Linked DNA regions of Homo sapiens: regions 1 and 3 are each linked to region 2. The links are contacts of gene promoters, found by promoter capture Hi-C in human tissues and cell types (Jung and others, 2019). All regions are on one chromosome and are shown on one strand. The core of a region is centred on a gene start or on the middle of the fragment in contact, and the rest is flanking DNA. Distances in the headings are between cores, read along the strand shown.

The links. Contacts are between HindIII fragments. The study calls those that stand out against the background at their distance.
Region 1: a fragment that was not itself captured here is called in contact with the fragment with the promoter of ITIH2 in region 2 in 2 of the 25 tissues and cell types used here (dorsolateral prefrontal cortex and lymphoblastoid cells).
Region 3: a contact is called between a fragment that was not itself captured here and the fragment with the promoter of ITIH2 in region 2, in 2 of the 25 tissues and cell types used here (lymphoblastoid cells and mesenchymal stem cells).

Annotation. Positions count from the first base shown.
Region 1 is chr10:9,255,271-9,259,049 of GRCh38, reverse strand. The region is part of intron 4 of LOC101928272 (a long non-coding RNA gene); the gene reads left to right. Among named protein-coding and RNA genes, the nearest start is that of LINC00709, 18 kb to the left of the region's middle. The HindIII fragment of the contact is 8,100 bases long and covers 1-3,779 here.
Region 2 is chr10:7,701,359-7,704,645 of GRCh38, reverse strand. ITIH2 (inter-alpha-trypsin inhibitor heavy chain 2) reads right to left here and starts at 1,330. Exons shown (of 21, transcript NM_002216.3): 1 at 1,128-1,330. The coding sequence starts at 1,211. The HindIII fragment of the contact is 26,123 bases long and covers 1-3,287 here.
Region 3 is chr10:9,201,776-9,205,438 of GRCh38, reverse strand. All of the region lies in intron 4 of LOC101928272 (a long non-coding RNA gene), which reads left to right. Among named protein-coding and RNA genes, the nearest start is that of LINC00709, 72 kb to the left of the region's middle. The HindIII fragment of the contact is 6,922 bases long and covers 1-3,663 here.

The DNA.
Region 1 (3,779 bases), core at 773-3,272, 1.6 Mb before region 2:
GGTCCCAGATTCTCTCTTCAGGGATGTGGCTTCACAGATCTATTATAACAGATCACAACTCCATGACATAAATAAAATATCAATGGACGTAATAAAATATATCCATAGTGACAATATTGTGCTTGGCACAGTAAACACACACACCCCCACCACCCCACAGTATTACAGAATCTAACAATGGTGAGAAGCATAATATTGTCAACTGTATAAAATACAAAAGTAAAGTCAAGTAAATAATTTTTTAAAAGATCATCAAATAACACTTTAAAAAGGATTGTGATTAGCTGTTTAAACCATGCAATCCTGGGAAAGCAGGCTTTTCCTGAAGTTCTGAGTACAATACTATTAAAGAAAATGCAAAGAGTTCATGCTAAGCACTCAGTCCTTCGTTTTACTCTCCTTGTCCTAAATATTTTTACCTAATGAATTAGAATCCAGAAGATTGGATCCATTAACTTTCCAGAGGGCTTCCTGGAGAAGTGCCTCTCCCCTCAGCAGTATCCTGTGAGGATAATTGTGTCAATATACACATTTTAATCTACATCCTTTGATTCTCTAAATTTATCTAACTAGCCTGGAATATTATTTGCGAGGAGCTACCTGTACCACCCACCATACATAACTACATTCTAAATCATAAAAAATAGAGATTAACTTTCATAATCTAACCAATGCTTAGATGTCAAAGTTAATTATTCTTTATAAATCAGTAAGGTCTCTAGTCTGTTCCTATTAAGTACACCTGTATTCAGAGAAGCATAGCACTGTTGTTTCTTTGGGAAATGGCAATGTCCAGTTTAGTAATTGCCTGATATATGTGTGTTCCGTGTAAAAATATGTTTATTATAATTTTTTATCCAAAAGTGTCATGATAATCAAACTTGGAAAATACACATATAATTTATTATCTGGTTTTAAAAGAAAGCAAACAAATAACAAGTAGTTCTAATTCTAGAAGAACTGAATAGCTTATAAATGATGCATATGCCAAATATTTCTTCATTCATTTATGCCTGTATTTGTTCAAGAATGTCTTGATGGATAATCAACAACATTCAGGAATATTTCATTGAACATATTTCGTGGCTCCTATTACTTTAATAAATGAATGAGTCATTAATTATTTATTTGAAGAATAGTTTGTTGAACATTTTTATAAGACATTTATTTTGTGAGCCATTTTTGTACAATTTACATTTCCAAAATGAATCAGGCAAAAATCTGCCTTCAGAAATTAATTGCAATGATAAGAGATGCTCACAAATAACATTAATAATAGTCAAATACCTTTAATAATAGTCAAAATAACAAGCATTTCTATTATCATATCTCTGTTTTATTTGCTTGTTTTCTGATGTAATTAATTCTCTGAACTCTAAGTCAGAGGACTTACCCTGGTTCCAGCTTCCTCAGAGTTAAAACATTACTGAAGAGACAATTTCTGCCTGTATATTTAATTCTGACAGTTTCTAAGAGCTATCCTGTAACATCCAGAGGATACTTTAGTTGTTATTATTTAGCTTCTTAGAGGAGTAATCAATGAATTAACCCTCCTAGACCTATTTTGTTTCTGTGCAAAAACAGTAGAAAATGGACTTTTCCTTGCTCTTATGATCAAGTCCCTAGTATATAGCTCCAATATCTCGATTCCCGCTTTATTTTTAAGTGCTTGATTCCTTTTCTCCTTATCTTTTTATATTTTATGCAATCCTCTAACTATGGGTAAATCAAACTATCTGTGATTTCTATTCCCACCTTTAAACAGCTGACCCTTTTTCAAGGAAATCACTCAGCCTTCCAATTTGTGCCACCGCTAATCAATGAGGCATGGCGTTTGGGGGAAGGTCATGCTAGAGCTCAACAGTTTTGTTTTATGTCCTGCCTCGATAACTGCCATTTTCCCTATCACTGATGACAACCCAGACCTCTCCTCCTCAAAGGACCTAACCATCTACCCCTCTTCCTCTTAGCCAGCGATCTTCCCTTGTGTTAGAAATGCTCCAAACCCCTCCCCATTATTGAGGATGAACAATCTCAAAGAGAATATAAAAACTATAATTAAGGAAACTCTCCTAAAATCTGCCTCCCCCCCCACATACATGCTTTGGCTTCTCCACTTATTCTGAACTCTGTTCATCTTGGTACAATGTGTTCTTACTTCTCTACCAAGTTAATCTGTTTTCGTGTTTCTTTTCCTTCTGTCTCCTCTGCAACCGTACTCCATCAATTTCCTCTGCTTCCTCCTGTGCCACACCTCTGTAAGTATCTCTCATCCTTAAATCAAACTCTCTTAAATTTATGTTCCTTTTAGCCACATCTCTGACCAATTCCTACGTAATCTTGCAACTCTCAAAGTAGGGACATCTTCCCTGGAAGTGTCATCCAATCTCTTCTCTCTGCTGTCTCTAGAATGCCTTCTCTCCTCCCCACCAATTTTCCAATACTACATAGTCTGGACCTGTTACATTGAAATGATCAGTTTATGTAGCTGTAGCCTCAAAAAGACCATGATCTATCAGAGGAGACTCTGTCGTGTTCATTATTGTGTCATGTTTCAGCCCGGGGCACTGTATGTAAGAGGGAGCTAGTTTAATGATCATTGAATTGAAGGACACAACTCCATGTGATTTTTTTTTCTTTTTTTAGATGGAGTTTCGCTCTTGTTGCCCAGGCTGGAGTTCAGTGGTGTGATCTCGGCTCATTGCAACCTCAGCCTCCAGGGTTCAAGGGATTCTCCTGCCTCAGCCTCCCAAGTAGCTGGGATTACAGGCATGAGCCACCGTGCTGGGCCTCCATGTGGGTTTGAAATTGTCTCAAATGCCCATGCTAATACAAAACAAAACTTGTTCTCCTCTGCGTTGGTCCCTCTTAGCAACATTATGTCCAACATGGAGGGAAATGTTTATCAAGGGAAGCAGACATAACAACAGGAGATAGTAATCAAATTTTAATTAATTAAGGGGAAAAGTGAAGAAAATGAGAAAAAATGATGCAAAGCCACATATCTGAGAAATGCAGAGGTCACAATCGAGAATTATTTTGTAAGACGAAATGTTGGAGAGACAAGAACTTAATCAAATGAAGACAGTTAATCAGATAGAACCAGTCAAATACCAAGTTGATTGACAATTGGAGTATGTTTGGGGTCCAGTTAAATGAATGACTGAATGTGAAAGGAAACCTTAAGATGGAAATGCTTGTGCTAGATGGGTTATCTCCTTATTTTTGTGTGCGTGAGTGCTGCTACCATTTACCTAGTTCCCCCAATGAGAAGGTCATGCAATATGAATTCTCCATTTTTCCACGTGCCTTCTTATATCCAATCAATTATCACATCCTATGAACTCTATCTCACTTGTCAATATAATATTCTTCTCTAGCCCACTCTGCTGCTTGAGGTCAGACACGTGTCTTATCATGCCTACACAATAAACTCTCTCCTCCTTTAGCTAATTCTTCATATTCCTTCCAGAGCAGTCTTTCTGATACACAAATACAATTGTGCGAAAAAGGAAAAAAAGAAAAGAAAAAAAAAATCCAGAGGCTCCCTAAAACCTATGTCTATTTTTCAGGTCTAGGCCACTCGGATTACCCTCTATCACCATCTAAATCACCTGTGGCCATCATTTTAGTTGCTATTTTTATTCTGTTGCTTTACAGTTCTCCTGAATGGAAAATGTCCCAAAGAAATAGCACGAGTTGGTACAATATTCCCCAACTGACTCATTATTAACTCAGGGGAAAGCTAAGAAATGCTCCAATGTCAGCTGGGTGCAGTG
Region 2 (3,287 bases), core at 81-2,580:
GGAGGGTAACAACACCTTCGCATTTGTTGGACATGGGAATTCATTTTTGAGTTTGCCAGCAGGTGGTAAGACAGAGATCAAAACAACCCAGTGATTAGGTGGGTGTCTGGGGAAGTATCTGGGTAGACCCTGGAGGCATTTGCAGTGTCTGACTGGACAGACATGAACCATACATCTCCCCAAGTTAAAAATGTAGGTATTTTCTAAAAGGAAATGCCAGTTAGAAATGACTGAAAAAGCACAAACACATTTGGATGTCTTGGCTTCAATTTGAGATTTCTAACACACTCTGGTGGCTTTTAAGTGTTGGAAAATATGATAGTTTCAAAGCAGACAGAGTGATATTTTCCCTTTGTAAATATGCCGTCATATTCTCTGGCATTTTTATAGGTAATCCACTCTGCAAGTATTATAAGCCTTTGCATTTGCTGGGATGTTCCCATAACATGCTTCGCTTTTCTGGCATAAAAATAGCTCTTGTATGACTTTCAGAAACAGACTTTCAGTCCAAGACTTTCCTTACATTGGAGATGGCTAAGGGACAAAAGTGGAGACCTGTACTCCATGGGAATTATTCTTGTACTTTTCCACCCTGCCTGCTATCTTCCGCTTTAATAGGAATACTTAAAGTGCTCTTATTACAAATATCACTGTTCACTTAGATATGAAAAACAGTGTGCTTTGATAATGACTTTTCTTATACTCTTAGTAAAAGAGTGATAATATTTCTTCATCATCATAACAGCTAGTAATTATTAAGCACTTACTAGTCCAGGCGCTCTGCTAGAAGAGTTTACACTGTGTCATTTAATTCTCAAAGCAAACCATTGGGTTAGGTCTATTCTTACCCCCAATTTTTTAGGTGAGGAGTGAGCAGCTCTGCTCCATAAATGCTACGCTCTGATGCCTGCCCATTGATCTTGACTTAATTTTCATGCAAAACCTGTTAATGCTTTAAAAGGTAAATATACATTCCAGTAATTATAACAGTAAACACTTGCACTCAGATGAATTTTATCTTAAGTTTCCATTACACACAGAATAAGGCCATTGAATAGCGATTCCAATAGATGATTTACTGAGCTCATGAACAAGCCAACAGCAAGGAGTGATCTGTAAGTACTTACTTCAGAAAGTCCATTTATGGGGATTTCGAAGCCTGATACTTCAGAAAGAAAGAAGCAGATGAAAAAGCACGTGAGTCTTTTCATTTTGCTGGACAGTTTTGCCAAGCTCCCCAAAGCAGATGGTCTGGGGAGGATATCACTTCTTCCTACTGAACCAAGTTCAAAGGAACAGCAGAGGAGTACAGTTCGCTTTAAGAAAGAAGAAAAAAGAAGAAAAAACTCTCTAACTTTGTTCAAAATTGGGACAAATATTTGTTCTGGAGCTCAAACTTGAGCTGTGTGGGTGGATCGAACACCCAGAGGTTATTCAAACAGCAAAGTCAGAAGCAGTTGCTTACTGTGAGGACAAGTCAGGGGCAGATGGATGTGCTTGAATGTGCTTGTGTGCTTTTATTTTATTTTTATTTTTTATTTTTTGGCTTTTGCTGATTTCTATTGATCTTAAAATCAGAGAGACCTACAGATAATTGTCATCCTTTCTAAAGGACCAAGTGCAGAACTATTCCAAGAAACAAAATCCTTTGATCTAAATGAAAGCAGGAAAAATTTAGAAAAAGTGGGAGAAGACACAGAAGGGTTTTTCTGAGCAAAGAATTCATTGTGCATGTTTTCCCCTATCTCTTTGATGACTGTCTACCTGTTACCTATAAAGACCCAGGCAAGTGGCTGTGCAGGATACTAGGGCAGATCTTCAGTGAGAATGCTTCGTGAATGTCTTTGATTAAGGTAACAGTGTCTGTCCTGCTGCCCCTATCAGCCGGGCTCAGGTCAGTGGCAAATCAATACTCCCCAGTCTCAGAATTGGAGTGCAGTGGTGAGATCAAAGCTCATTGCAGCCTCAACTTCCCCCGGCTCAAGCAATCTGCCCACCTCAGCCTCCAGAGTAGCTGGACTACAGGTGTGCACTACACTGCCTGGCTATTTTTTGTAGAGATGGGATTTCATCATGTTGCTCATCCTGGTCTTGAACACCTGGGCTCAAGCTATCTGCTTGCCTCAGCCTCCGAAACTGCTGGGATTCCAGATGTGAGCCCCCATGCCTAGCCTCCATCCTGGTCAGATTCTATTTTTCTTGCAACAAACAGGAAATGTAACTTCTTGGATGCAACACTGAAATAGGAAGCTCCAGCTGTGGGCAGAATTACAATACAAGGGAGGTTGTCTTATCCTCAGGACCAAGCACCCCAGGCCAACTTCTGGGATCCTGGAGCTCCTTGCTACATTTAAAGCCCAATTCACAGGGCATGCAACAGAGAGTTTTCTGCATTTTCCTCCCTAGTTTCCCCTCAGTCTTCGAAATTGCACAGCCGTGTGTCTGCTGGAGAAACATAACTTCTGAAATAATGGAAGGGAGAAAACAGATTCTCCCCTCCCTTGCCTAGGTTGGACTAGTTGAGCGCCCACCTTGGCCAGTGAGTGCCTCAGTGGACCCCTCATGGAAAAATCCTGCCACAGCTTTGCATTCTTGACTGAGATACTGTTTCTGGAGAATTAAGACCCAATGGCAGCTGGGCGCGGTGGCTCACACTTGTAATCCCAGCACTTTGGGAGACTGAGGCGGGTGGATGACCTGAGGTCAGGAGTTTGAGACCAGCCTGGCCAACATAGTGCAACCCCGTCTCTACTAAAAATACAAAAATTAGCCAGGTGTGGTGGCATGCGCCTGTAATCCCAGCTACTTGGGAGGCTGAGGCATGAGAATTGCTTGAACTGGGGAGGCGGAGGTTAGAGTGAGCTGAGATCACGCCACTGCATTCCACCTGGGCAACAGGGCAAGACTTGGTCTCAAAAGAAAAAAATAAATAAATAATAAAAAACCCAATGGCATGTTCTCCCAAAAACAGCAGTGACTTTCAAAATCATACCTCCTTCCATTGATCATTTCCTTTCTGATTATTTTAATCTGATATTCAGAATTATCTCAGAATAAACCAAACCAAAAGCAGGCTGGACTTTTTTCCATGCTGATACTCTGTCTTCAGATCCCAAAGTCCTTTTTTTTTTTTTTTTTTGAGAGGGAGCGTCACTCTGTGGCTCAGACTCAAGCGCAATGGCATGATCTTGGCTTACTGCAACCTCCACCTCCCAGGTTCACGCGATTCCCCTGCCTGAACCTCCCAAGTAGCTGGAATTACGGGCGTGCACCACCACAACTAACTT
Region 3 (3,663 bases), core at 884-3,383, 1.5 Mb before region 2:
TTCAATCTGAGTTCTTATGCATAAACCAAATAGAATGAGACTAAAATCCTAGCAACATGAAAGCAAAAACAGGAATTCCACGAGATCGTGCCACTACACTCCAGCCTGGGTGACAGAGCGAAACTCCGTCTCAAAAAACAAACAAACAAACAAAAAACCCCAAAACAGGAATTCCAGATACCTAATAACTTGCAGACAAATGTATAGACTCTTTCTAAATAGAAATCACCCAATTTAATAACTTTAGATGAAGAATTTTATTTATTTATTTATTTGTTTGTTTGTTTGTTTATTTATTTATTTATTTATTTTAAGATGGAGTCTTGCTCTGTTGCCCAGGCTGGAGTGCAGTGGTGTGATCTCGGCTCACTGCAACCTCCACCTCTGGGGTTCAAGTGATTCTCCTGCCTCAGCCTCCCTATAGCTGGGATTACAGTCACCCGCCACCACACCCGGTAATTTTTATATTTTTAGTAGAGATGGAGTTTCTCCATGTTAGTCAGGCTGGTCTTGAACTCTACCTCACGTGATCCACCCGTCTCAGCCTCTCAAAGTGCTGGGATTACAGGCGTGAGTCACTGCGCCTTGCTAGATGAACAAATTTTAGATTCTATATTTTAAACATATAAGCAATATTTTTGTTTTCAGTGTAACGGGGATATTACCTAATATGGAAGAGGAGCAAAGAAACACAGTAAGCCTCATGGAGCGGCAAAGAAATCTAGTTTAATAAAAAGTTCAATGTAAGAAAAGCACGGAGTAAGTTGCTTGTGCACTATTTGTGTGGTATTTTCCTCCAATCATTCTTTCTTATTATTTGCCTTAACACACACTATTAAAGCGTCCTGTATAACCACTTCCTAACTTTATATCTACAAGAATCTAATTTATTGTCATAGTTAAGTACTGCAGTATTAGAATTTATCTTACTGTACAGGATAACAAGCTTAAGATTATACCAATGTTTCTCCTGTATTGACATCATATAGGGCAGCCATCACATCTTCAAAACTACTTAATTTTTAGTGAATGTATCCCCACGCACATCTCTCCTAACACGTTGATTTTACTATTAAGATAGATTGTTCTAGATTAATTAATCTTTTCCATAAGTAGAAATTTTAATAATGCTATCATGTCCTAGGTGACTAAGAATACTTGATCTTGGGTGTATGAAAAAGCACCCAAGAACACCATATTGCCTATTTTCAAAGCTAAATCATGATAACAGAGTTAGTATGAGGAATCCTCTTACCTTGTTTTGGTAATGGACTCTCTTCCTTTGAAATGGTAACACTGCATTTGTGAATACTGTATTGCACTTGAAAAAAGCTGCTTTGTATTATAGTTATTTCTATTCCACATTTCCATATCTTACCAGAAACCCCCTACTGAAAACTTCCTTGAAGTAATAATTTTGATTTTAGCCTCCCATCTCTCAGTTTCTAGTATAATATCTTCTTTAAATATATTCATGCATTCAACAATTGTTCAGTGAGTGCTTACTGTAAGCTGTGCCTTCTGCTAAGCTAAGGGGATATAGCTAAGAACAAAACAGATGTAATCCTTTCCTTACATTACATATGATTAACACTGAGAAAGAAGCATGTAGTGACTTAAGCACTCAGAGTCTGTCCTCAGGCCTGAGTTCAATTCCTGCTTCAACTCCTACAAGTTAGTTTGTCATGCAACTTATTCCTCAGCTTTAGTTTATTCATCTGTAAAAAGATGGATAACTCTCACCCCAGAGATTTGTTGCAAATGCCAAACTGGATTACTTAAGTAAGATTTTAAATACAGTGCTGGGATATATGGAGTTTATAATAAGTGGAAGCTATATATTATTTAATATTTGTTAGCATCTTTTAAAAAATAATGCTATTGATAAACAGTTGTAACAACATGTTTAAGCAGAGATGATACATGGTCATTGGTTAAAATATTTATGGCTTATAATTTGTCTTATTAATGAAAACTCTTCTGCATATCTACTTATTGATTATGGTAAGAGAAAATTTCATAGGATTTTCCGAGAAACACTTCAAAATTTAATTTTGTACTTTGTGAATTTTGCTATGTTTATGCTTAAAAGTTCTCTTACTGCTCCAGGATTAGAAACATCACCACTTATTTTTTCATATTTTCTACAAAAATTTTTATTTGGTAAATTTTATTCCTTATGTTACCTTAAATTTACATTAAGTTAAAGTGTAAGATAAGGATCCAATTTAAGAATTATTTTCCAAAAGGCCAATTAATCCAAAATTATTTAGCAATATTACATCTGTTTATGTAATGTTTGTAAGATATTCATGATCATATAGCAAATTTTATATCTACTAGACATTAGAATTATATTGTTACTTATATTATGATATCCGTATGCTATTAGTATATAGACAAACAACTTATTTCTTTCATTGTGAACATCCCTGCTTTTTGGTCTTTTTTTATTTTTAATTTTTTTTTTTACTCTAAAAAGTCCCAATGACCTTTCAAGGTAGCTCTTAGCATGTTAAACAAATATATTTTAAAACTATAACAGGAAGTACCACAGTAATTTCAGATTCACATATCTCATTCATTAATTTTAAAATACTATCCATCTCTTAGCCTGCTGATGGACATCTTCTAAGTAAAAGTTTCAAAGCAAGTATCCATGGGCAGTTTATGTTCTAAATTCTGCATATCTGAGCAGGGAGGTCAGTGTTATACCAGCACATAAATTAGGTTGTACTCGGTTAAAATATCCTTAGATGACATATTTTTCTCTCAAAACTTTATCTCATTATGACATCATATTCTGGCACTCTGAGTTAAGTAGAATTGGAAACAGTGTAAATTTTTTACGTTTTGCCCATGTGGTTGTCAATTTTTTTCTTTAAAACTTGAAATTCAACAATTTTGCCAGTTTTATTCTAAGTTACTTTGTTTTTAATTTTGCGTGGCACTTAGTGAACACTTTTGACCCGTATATTCAAGTAATGTCTTTTGTTGCCGTTATGTTTTCTTGTTTGTTTTTAACTATGCAAAGTATTCTCCTCTAAATAATGATTAGCTTCAATTGCTTTGATTTATTCCCAGTGGAAGCTAATGATTTATATATTTTGACTTTTTGTTTTCTCTCCTCTATAGCATCTCTTATTATTGTTATTATATATTTTCTTGGTGTTTTTAGAGAACTGTCTACTTTATTAGTGATTTCATTTTCTACAATGTCAATTATGTTGCTCGCTACAGCCGAAGCCAATTTTAATTTTTCCACTGTGATATCTTCTGTCTCGCATTCTTTTATGTTTGTGCTGGCAGTGTTTATAGTTCAACACTCTTCTTTTTCTTTTATTTTCTCATTTATACTTATTTTACATATTTATGATAAATAGTTTTTTCTTACATGAAAAACTGCAGTCATTCGCTCAACTTTGATGTTTAAAAAATCATTGAAAAACGTAAAAATCTCACACTGTTAATGTTTGCAAAGGGCATTATTCCCTTGGACAGATATTACTGTCTGTCTTGGTGTTCTCAGAATCTCACAAACATTTGGGCTGCACCCCAGCCCCAACCCTGGCCCCGCTGCTGATATGTAGCTTTTTGAGACACATTCCATCATCAAGTAAACATTTAAACAGCTCAATTCCACAAAAATTAGGCAGAAATTAC